Regions from separate parts of the Homo sapiens genome. Here region 1 is linked to region 2. The links are contacts of gene promoters, found by promoter capture Hi-C in human tissues and cell types (Jung and others, 2019). All regions are on one chromosome and are shown on one strand. Each heading gives the region's core, a stretch centred on a gene start or on the middle of the fragment in contact. The rest is flanking DNA. Distances are from core to core; before and after follow the strand shown. Region 1 has its middle 11 kb from the start of MAP2K4. Region 2 holds the start of ELAC2 (elaC ribonuclease Z 2).

Evidence for each region. Contacts are between HindIII fragments. The study calls those that stand out against the background at their distance.
Region 1: a contact is called between a fragment that was not itself captured here and the fragment with the promoter of ELAC2 in region 2, in 1 of the 25 tissues and cell types used here (lymphoblastoid cells).

What each region holds. Positions count from the first base shown.
Region 1 is chr17:12,007,650-12,012,421 of GRCh38, reverse strand. It overlaps a transcript of ZNF18 not described here and the pseudogene RPL21P122. Among named protein-coding and RNA genes, the nearest start is that of MAP2K4, 11 kb to the left of the region's middle. The HindIII fragment of the contact is 4,053 bases long and covers 1-3,312 here.
Region 2 is chr17:13,016,094-13,020,944 of GRCh38, reverse strand. ELAC2 (elaC ribonuclease Z 2) reads left to right here and starts at 2,918. Exons shown (of 24, transcript NM_018127.7): 1 at 2,918-3,242; 2 at 3,824-3,874; 3 at 4,013-4,083. The coding sequence starts at 2,998. RefSeq lists a silencer at 2,801-2,880 and enhancers at 3,401-3,460, 3,481-3,590, 3,102-3,602. The HindIII fragment of the contact is 16,662 bases long and covers 1-4,851 here.

The DNA of each region.
Region 1 (4,772 bases), core at 37-2,536, 1.0 Mb after region 2:
TTACTGAATATAGTATTTTTGTAGCAAAATATTAGAATCAACTTAAATGTCCTTTAACAGGCAACTGAATAAACATGGAGCGAATACTACCCAGCTGTAAGAAGAGGAAGCTCTTTGTGTAGTGATATGGGATGACTATCAATATATATTGTTATCTTTTAAAAAGCCAGATGAAGAACACCATGGTTTGCTACTATTTGTTTTAAAGAAGGAGAAATGTATATGTAATATTTAGTTACTTGTTTTAAATTTATTTGGAAAGATACTGAAAATAATGAAAATTTTGGTGTCTCAAGAGAGAAACTGGGTGATTGGTGGACAGGATTGAGAGGGACACTTTACATTATATATTCTTTGGTAGCTTATGGACTGTAAATGTCATGAACATAATAGCTAATGAAAATTAATGAATTAAGATGTAACTGCTGGGCGCAGTGGCTCACACTTGTAATCCCAGCACTTTGGGAGGCTGAGGTGGGCAGATCACGAGGTCAGGAGTTCAAGACCACCCTGGCCAATGTGGTGAAATCCCATCTCTACTAAAAATACAAAAATTAGCTGGATGTGGTGGTGCATGCCTGTAATCCCAGCTACTCAGGAGGCTGAGGCAGGAGAATCACTTGAACTTGGGAGGCAGAGGTGGAAGTGAGCCAAGATCGTGCCACTGCACTCCAGCCTGGGCGACAGAACTAGACTCCGTCTCAAAAAAAAAAAAAAAAAAAAAAATTAAGAACATTTGGCTGGGCATGGTGGCTCACACCTGTAATCCTAGCATGTTGGGAGGCTGAGGTGGGCAGATCATGAGGTCAGGAGATCGAGACCATCTTGGTCAACATGGTGAAACCCCATCTCTACTAAAAACACAAAAATTACCTGGGTGTGGTGGCGGGTGCCTGTAGCCCCAACTACTTGGGAGGCTGAGGCAAGAGAATCGCTTGAACCCGGAAGTCAGAGGTTGCAGTGAGCTGAGATCGCACCACTGCACTCCAGCCTAGGCGACAGAATGAGATTCTGTCTCAAAAAAAAATAATAATAAAAATGATGGAACTAAATCAGGATGATGGATGTCCTTTCTTTTGTTGTTAAATAAACATTCTTATGAAACAGCAAATATTTATTACCATACATTTATATTCTTTTAAAGTTTCATTCAAAATATGATTCAGGGGAACCGCCATCTTCCAGTAATTCACCAAAATGATGAACACAAAGTGAAAGAGGAGAGGCACCCGATATATGTTCTCCAGGAGTTTTAGAAAACATGGAGTTGTTCCTTTGGCCGTGCACAGGCGAATCTAGAAGAAAGGTGATATTATAGACATCAAGGGAATGAGTACTGTTCAAAAAGGAATGCCCCACAGGTGTCACCATGGCTAAACTGGAAGAGTCTACAATGTTCCCCAGCATGCTGTTGGCATTTGTTGTAAACAAACAAGTTAAGGGCAAGATTCTTGCCAAGAGAATTAATGTGTGTATTGGGCATGTTAAGCACGTGAAGAGCCAAGATAGCTTCCTGAAACAAGTGAAGGAAAATTATCAGAAAACTAAAGAAGACAAAGAGAAAAGTACCTGGGGTTCAACTGAAGTGCCAGCCTGCACTGCCCAGAAAAGCACACTTCGTGAGAACCAGTAGGAAGAAGCCTGAGGTGCTGGAACATATTCCCTATGAATTCATGGCATAGTAAGTGTTTAAAAAATAAAAGACCGGCGGGGCGCAGTGGCTCACGCCTGTAATCCCAGCACTTTGGGAGGGTGAGGTGGGTGGATCACGAGGTCAAGAGATCGAGACCATCCTGGCCAACATGCTGAAACCCCGTTTCTACTAAAAATACAAAAAAATTAGCTGGGCGTGGTGACGGGCGCCTGTAGTCCCAGCTACTTGGGAGGCTGAGGCAGGAGAATCTCTTGAACCCGGGAGACAGAGGTTGCAGTGAGCCAAGATTGCGCCACTGCACTCCAGACTGGCGAGAGAGCAAGACTCCATCTGGAAAAAAAAAAAAAAGTTCAGAAACAAATGTTTTGGAAGCAGTTTTAAAGAAAAGCAGTCTGTTCTTGTAAATACATTCTATTTTACTTACACAAAACTTTTCCTTTTTTCTCTTTAAGTCACCAGAAAATAAATGTACTGAGTTTCTATTCTTGGCTCAGATTCAACTAGAATAGCGAAGAATTACAAGATATATAAATGAAAAATCCTGTTCATTTAGTAAACATTTCATACTATATTTATACAGTGAAATTCATTGATAGTACTTTTTTTTTTTACTTATAAGTTTTTATTGGTTCTAATTAAGCCTGAGAATAAAGTCTTGTGAAACTGTCCTCTCCATTACTGTCTATTCTAATCTATTCTCGACAGGCACCACAATAAAGCTTTCACCCCTGTTTTGGTCTGTTATATCCAAGCCACATGTGCAGTCAAGGAAAAGGTGATGTTCCTGTAGTCTTTTCTAAACTACCATCTGCTAATATTACATAGATAAGCCATATTTTAGGCACTTTTTTCTACCATCTCACAAATCTGTATGTTGGAATTCTAGGAATATATGTTAATAGATCATTTGGTGTATTTTAAGTGGTTTTTCAAGAAGCAAAGTTAGGGTATTTGTTGTTTCTTTTACGTCTCACGCAGGCAGGAGCAAGGAGGGATGATTTAAAAGCTCAGGAATGGCCAGGCGCGGTGGCTCACGCCTGTAATTCCAGCACTTTGGGAGGCTGAGGCGGGTGGATCACTTAAGGTCAGGGGTTCGACACCAGCCTGGCCAACGTGGTGAAACCTTGTCTCTACCAAGAATACAAAAATTAGCCGAGCATGGTGACGGGCGCCTGTAATCCCAGCTACTTGAGAGGCTGAGGCAGGAGAATTGCTTGAATCTGGGAGGCGGAGGTTGCAATGAGCCAAGATCATGCCACTGCGCTCCAGCCTGGGTGACAGAGCAAGACTCTGTCTCGAAAAAAGAAAAAGAAAAAAAAAAAAAAAGCTCGGGAATGTATGGCACAGAGATGGGTGGAAATTGATCATGGAGGACCATAGGACCCTGTTTTCTAGAGGTCCAAATGATACAATTTGGAATAAAAGAACGTCTCTGCCTTGAACCCAAGGCTGTCCTCCTGGAACCCTGAGTGGAGCAGGCAGTTCTAGAAGCAGCCATGTAGGGATAAAAGGATGGCAAAAAAAAAAAATTGTCTACACCAACCCATGTCTCCTCGAATATATCTGTTTTCAGGTATGTGAAGGAAAGCTAAGATAATTCAGTGGATTCTTCACTGGGAAAAAGGCCAGATTCCAGTTTATAAGTGAGTATAACCCTGAAGACTTGCCTCCTTCTCCTAGACAGGGCTTGAGATTTGAGTTCCTTTCTTCCCTTCATTTCCTCCAGTGAACACTGGCTGATATCTGTATAGCCTGTGCCCGTAAGTCAGGAATTTGCCAGGGTGTCACAATTGTAAATGCTATGCTCCGAATTTTGGACCATGGTATCTAAATTTTGGTTTTTGGGATATAGTTACAGTAGACCTAGACTAAATTCTTATCTGTTGACCTTGACCAAATTCCTTCCTATTTCTCTTTTGGGAGTTCCCTGAATAATAAGGATCTTGTGGGGAACAACAGTTCCTAGTGGCCTACCATCTGGTGGAGGCCACAGACTGATTAAGTAAGTATCAAGTGAACTGTGGGATAAGGGATTTGGCAAGGGCAGTGCCCTGCCCAATCTTCAGTAGTCAGCTTCTAGGCCCTCTGACCAGCAAAGTCTTCAGACATCCCCAGCAGGCTCTACAGCTCAGACTCTGAGGGGAGCATCATTAACCTTGACTCCTCTGCCTTCTGGAGAATATTTGAGCGCAAACTTGCTCAAATACCTTCAGGGTCCAGATGGTACTGTAAGTATGTTAAAGGAACATGATCTAAAGGGATGGTCAAAGCTGGGCATGGTGGCTTGAGCCTGTAGTCCTAGCTACTTGACAGGCTGAGGCGTGAGGATCCCTTGAGCCCAAGAATTCAAGCCTAGCCTGGGCAACGTAGCTAGACCCCCATCTCTGAATAATAATAATAATAGTAGTAATAATGGGATGGTCAGACTTATGACTCACTGCAAATTGCATGCACCACTAAAAGGCATTCCAGTTCAAGTAAATTTTTAAAACTGTGCTTGCCAAAGAAAATACATGCTGCCAGTTTCCAACTTCTGGTTGGAAGGGTCCACATCAATCTCAGAGAAGAGAACTGATCTTGGATAGAACCCTGTAAGCTTAAATGAATGCATTCCTTGCTTAATTCCGGGTAACCAGCCTCTTCCAAGATGGGGTTTCTGTTTGGTGCCTTGGCTACATGCTGCTGCTTCTTCGTATCTCCACGGGCAACCCGAGGCACTCTGCAGTGGCCCTCCTCAAGACTCTACAGCAGACCACTGCTGCTGATTAACTTTATTTTCTTTCCGTTCTCTGAGCACCACCACATTATGGATTTTTTTTCAACCCTGGTGTCTGGTTAATTCCAATCATCTTCTCTCTCTGTGTTCCCCAGTGTTCAGACCCTTTGTGCTAATTAGCAGTGACAGACGTGTCACCAATCTTGCTGTTTCTCCAGGGGAAGAAAAAGCTTGCTTTTTAAAATTGATCTGTGAGACCTTCAGGAGCCACCACATGCTCCTGGAAGCTTCTGTTAGAAGGAGAAAGGTTCAGTCTGAAAAACCAAATGCAGAGAAAATCTCAACGTGGGCAGGCGTCTAGCCATCCCCAGCAGCAGGTAGCAGGGACAGATGGGGCTTCCC
Region 2 (4,851 bases), core at 1,669-4,168:
TGTCGCCTCGATTTCCACTTTCTCTGCTGTCCCGATGGTCAGGCTGCCTCTACTCCAGCAAGTCCAGAGACACTTTTCTGTTTCAGACTCTCTGAACTATCCTTTTGGAGGTACCAGTCACACCAATCCCCTTCAGAAAACACATACATTGTTGTCTTGATTCAATTTTAGGCCCTGCTTAGTTGTAAACTGAAAACCTCATTTAAGCTACTGGCTTGCTTCTAATTTCCTAGTATTTATTGTCTGCCACAAGCCAGACTCTGTCCTAGGAGCTAATGATACAGCAGAGGACCAGATAGACAAATCCCAGGCTCATGAAATTTACATTCCAGTATAACCTCAGATTGAAGAAGTACTAGCTATTGTCTTCATATACCAGGAATAAAAATATGACCCAAAGCATAAGTGCAGAAAGTACACTGGGCCCTAGAAACAACCTAAATAGCATCCAGCCCTCAGAATTTTATATAAGTCGATGACCAAAAGTGATTCCTCCTATAATTTTGAGATAAGTAGTTTGAGATTACCCAACAGATAGATATGCACATAGGGCACCAATAAAATAGAGGAACCAATGTATTTTTGTTTGTGAAATTTGATATATTTTTTAAAAGGATCAAAGCAGTCATCACAGGAAAAAAATCAGTATTTTATTTATTGCACTACACTTTTTAAAAGTAGTTTTAATGAATTAATTTTCTTTTTCTTTTTTTTTTTTTTTTTTTTTTGTAGAGAGTGTCTCACTCTGTCAGCCAGGCTGGAGTAAAGTGGTATGATCATAGCTCACTGCAGCCTCAAACCCCTGGGTTCATGTGATCCTCCTGTCTCAGCCTTCAGAGTAGCTGGGACAACAGGTGTGTGCCACCATGTCCAGCTAATTTTTACTTATTTTTAAATTTTTTAGTATTTTTTGGTAGAGATGAGGTCTCGCTTTGTTGCCAGAGCTGGTTTGTTTGTTTGTTTTTGAGATGGAATCTCCCTCTGTCACCCAGGCTGGAGTGCAATGGTGTGATCTTGGCTCACTGCAACCTCTGTCTCTGGGGTTCAAGTGATTCTCCTGCCTCAACCTCCCCAGTAGCTGGGATTACAGGCCCATGCAACCACTCCCGGCTAATTTTTGTGTTTTTAGTAGAGACGGGGTTTCATCATGTTGGCCAGGCTGGTCTCGAACTCCTGACCTCAGGTGATCCACCTGCCTCGGCCTCCCAAAGTGCTGGGATTACAGGCATAAGCCACCATGCCTGGCCACAGAGCAGGTTTTGAACTACTAGCCTGAAGCTATTCTCCCGCCTTGGCCTCCCAAAGTGCTGGGATTACAGATATGTGCCACGGTGCCCAGGCTTTAAGCAACTTTTAAAAACTATCATTTTTATTTCAAATACTTATGGAGATGGTGGTATGATAATCTTTTCAGTTTGTAACGCCCTCTAACTGTGTAAAGTAGATCTGAAGTGTTTTCCTGACCCTCACTGGGATGGTTATTTCAAGTACAAAACGTTTTCACACCGTGGGTGATAATCTTCCATAAAAAATTTCATATTTGAATGAAAACAGCTCAAGAAATACACTAATGAGCAAAAATATATGGGGAAAGAGGAACGTGTAGTTTTGACTTAACTGAAGAAACCAAGAGGAAACTGGTCTCCATATGAAAATGTGATCCTGGAAAGTCAGGTGTCAAGATTTTCGAGTAGGAATCTACATGACTTGAATCTCCCTTACTTCCTGAATAAAAGTGACATCTTTCAGTATTTATTTAAAAAAATCATATGTCAGTGGAGCTTCCAGGTAAATTATCTTTAAAAAATCATATTTGAGTGGAGCTTCCAGGTAAATTATCTTCCTCTTTTAAGGGAGCTCCCTGTATTTCTAGCGGCTTTAACTGATATCCCTTTCAGTGAGAAATCCTCATTAGCTACATAAGAGGGGACTGGGTGTTTTTTTCAAAAAGCTGGTATTGGGACATCTACCTCTGTGATGTCCCTGGTCAGCTATATTGTCTAGGAGTTGAAACATTTTGTATTAATTTTCTATCATTTACTGGGTGCCTCTTCTGTGACAGTGCCACTCAAAGGTCTATTGATATATTATCAGGTGACTGAATTCTATATTCTGAAGTAGGAGATACTGTTATTGCTGTTATTACATTTTACACATAAGAAAGCTGAGGCTCTGAGAGGTCAAGATCACGCAGCTAACAAATGAGCCAAGACTCTTGCTTTAGAGCTTGTCCTCTATTCTTGCTTTTCTTTCCAAAAAACACTACAATTTTTGTTTTGTTTTGTTTTGTTTTGAGACAGGGTCTCGAGGTGTCACCCAGGCTGGAGTGCAGTGGCGCGATTTCGACTCACCGCAACCTCCGCCTCCGCGCTTAAGCGATTCTCCTGCCTCAGCCTCCCAAGTAGCTGGGACTACAAGCTCGGGACACCACGTAAAAATGATCAAGTTCTAACATGTATGCATACGAATTACAATGGAAATAAAATTAGCAAAGCGCTTATGCTAATGCTCAATACAATTGATTTCCTCACATTTAATCCTCACAACCACTACAACCACCTCTAACTCAAGCTCTGAGGGACTGACGTGCCCGGAGGACACAGCTCTTATCTGGTGAGAACAGGAGCGTTTTAGCGAAACTCCAAACTCCTAGGTCCCGCCTTCCCCAGGAAGGCTTTTCCTGGCACTGTGCTTCCGGAAGTCCCGCCCCAGGAGAAAAACAGCTTCCGGAAAAAATTGCGGCCGGCAAACCGGAACAGAACTAGGGGCGGGGCCGCTTGAGACGCTCTAGTATTCCTCTACTCTATGGCCACTGTCAATTGACAAGTCCCGAGCGGTAAAGCTCCTTTCTATTGGATGAGCAGCCTCGCGTAGGCGGGAAGCTCGGTGCACGGCGCGCTGATTGGCTGGATCCGCCATGCGGAGCGGCTAGGTGGTGCACGGGAAACGCGGGCGTAGGTGACCGGCGGCTTTCTCAGTTTTGGTGGAGACGGGCGCATGTGGGCGCTTTGCTCGCTGCTGCGGTCCGCGGCCGGACGCACCATGTCGCAGGGACGCACCATATCGCAGGCACCCGCCCGCCGCGAGCGGCCGCGCAAGGACCCGCTGCGGCACCTGCGCACGCGAGAGAAGCGCGGACCGTCGGGGTGCTCCGGCGGCCCAAACACCGTGTACCTGCAGGTGGTGGCAGCGGGTAGCCGGGACTCGGGCGCCGCGCTCTACGTCTTCTCCGAGTTCAACCGGTCAGTCAACGAGCCACGCCCCGTCCCGCTGGGCCCTCAGTGCGGCGCAGCCTCTGAGCATCGGGGCACCTCCCAGGGCTTCGGCTTCCCTGCTTCACACATGTGGTTCACTGTTGCGGGGGTTCGTGGAGTTATGGTGGGTGGGAAATCCGAGATTCTTTGCATCCATGTGATTTCTGCGGATCTGTGAAGAACTTCAGGCCTGGGTCTGAGCGTCCTTTTCCCAACCCTTGGGCCCCGGCCTGGCTGTCAGCACTTTCGGAGCTCCACCCTCTTCCGTGCACCCCAAGGCCAGTGTGTCGTTGTTAGCGTGTGGGGTGGACAGATCTGGTGTGTAGCCGGTGGTGGAGAAAGGACTCATTTTGTCCTAGCACCCACACACACAGGCCCCCACTCCTCTCCACCTCTGCTAAGGAGGGCTCAAAACCCACCAGCATAAATGTGGCTCGGTAGTCCAACGTGGACTTTTAATTTTTTTTTCTTTTTTTTTTTTCCAGAGTCTACAATAAAACATCTAATTGGTGTCAGAGAGTTTACAGAATAAAACCTTCTGAATGTCTTGTGTAATGTTTGTCTTGTAGGTATCTCTTCAACTGTGGAGAAGGCGTTCAGAGACTCATGCAGGAGCACAAGTGAGTCAGTCTCTTGCTTTCGGAGGGGGAGTTGATTACGGGGCTTGAAAGCCGAAATGAGAGGCCAGTTGTTTTTTATAGCAAAAGTGGTCCTTGTTCTGTTCATGTTATCCTGTTTAAATGTTTTTTCATTCTTAGGTTAAAGGTTGCTCGCCTGGACAACATATTCCTGACACGAATGCACTGGTCTAATGTTGGGGGCTTAAGTGGTGAGTATATTCTTTGCAGTGTCAGAGGCTGGTGGGAAGTCTCTGGGATTTTAACCGGCTTTACCATTTTTCCAAGTCTGGGGTGGGCAGCTACTTTTTTTTTTTTTTTTTTTTTTGTCAGTGGCGTGATCTTGGCTCACTGCAACCTTTGCCTTCTGGGCTCAGGTGATCCCCTCACCTCAGCCTCCCAAATAGCTGGGACCACACGTGTGCCCCATCACACCTGGCTAATTTTTTTTGTATGTTTTGTAGCGACGGGGTTTTGCTATGTTGCCCAGGCTGGTCTCAAACTTCTGCGATCCTCCTGTCTCGGCCTCCCAGAGTGCTGGGATTACAGGCATGAGCCACCGCACCTGGCCTGGAATTCTTTTTATACCAGCCCAGTCAGCAGCAGCACAGAGCATTAAAAGCTGTGACTCAGGAGAACAGATTTTAATATGGATACCACCTCTTAAGTGTTACCATCCACTTAGTTTCTTGCGTTGCGGGGACAGAGATTTGTGGCAGTAAACTGGAGAGTCTAGCAGTGGTGATTACAGTTAATATGTTTACCGCAGACGCCATTGGCACATTGGCAGCCACACACATACCCACTGTCCAGATTACCCTGTCATTTATGTCTATCAACCGGAAGGTCAGGATTGTGTTGCAGCCAAATTGTGTGGGCTTGGTGGCATGGACCGGAAGGAGTGAAGTGTTAGACCAGTCTCCCTTCTCAGGGCTGAGACTAGGGTGAGGCACTTAGGGTGCCAGCCCTTCACTTGCATG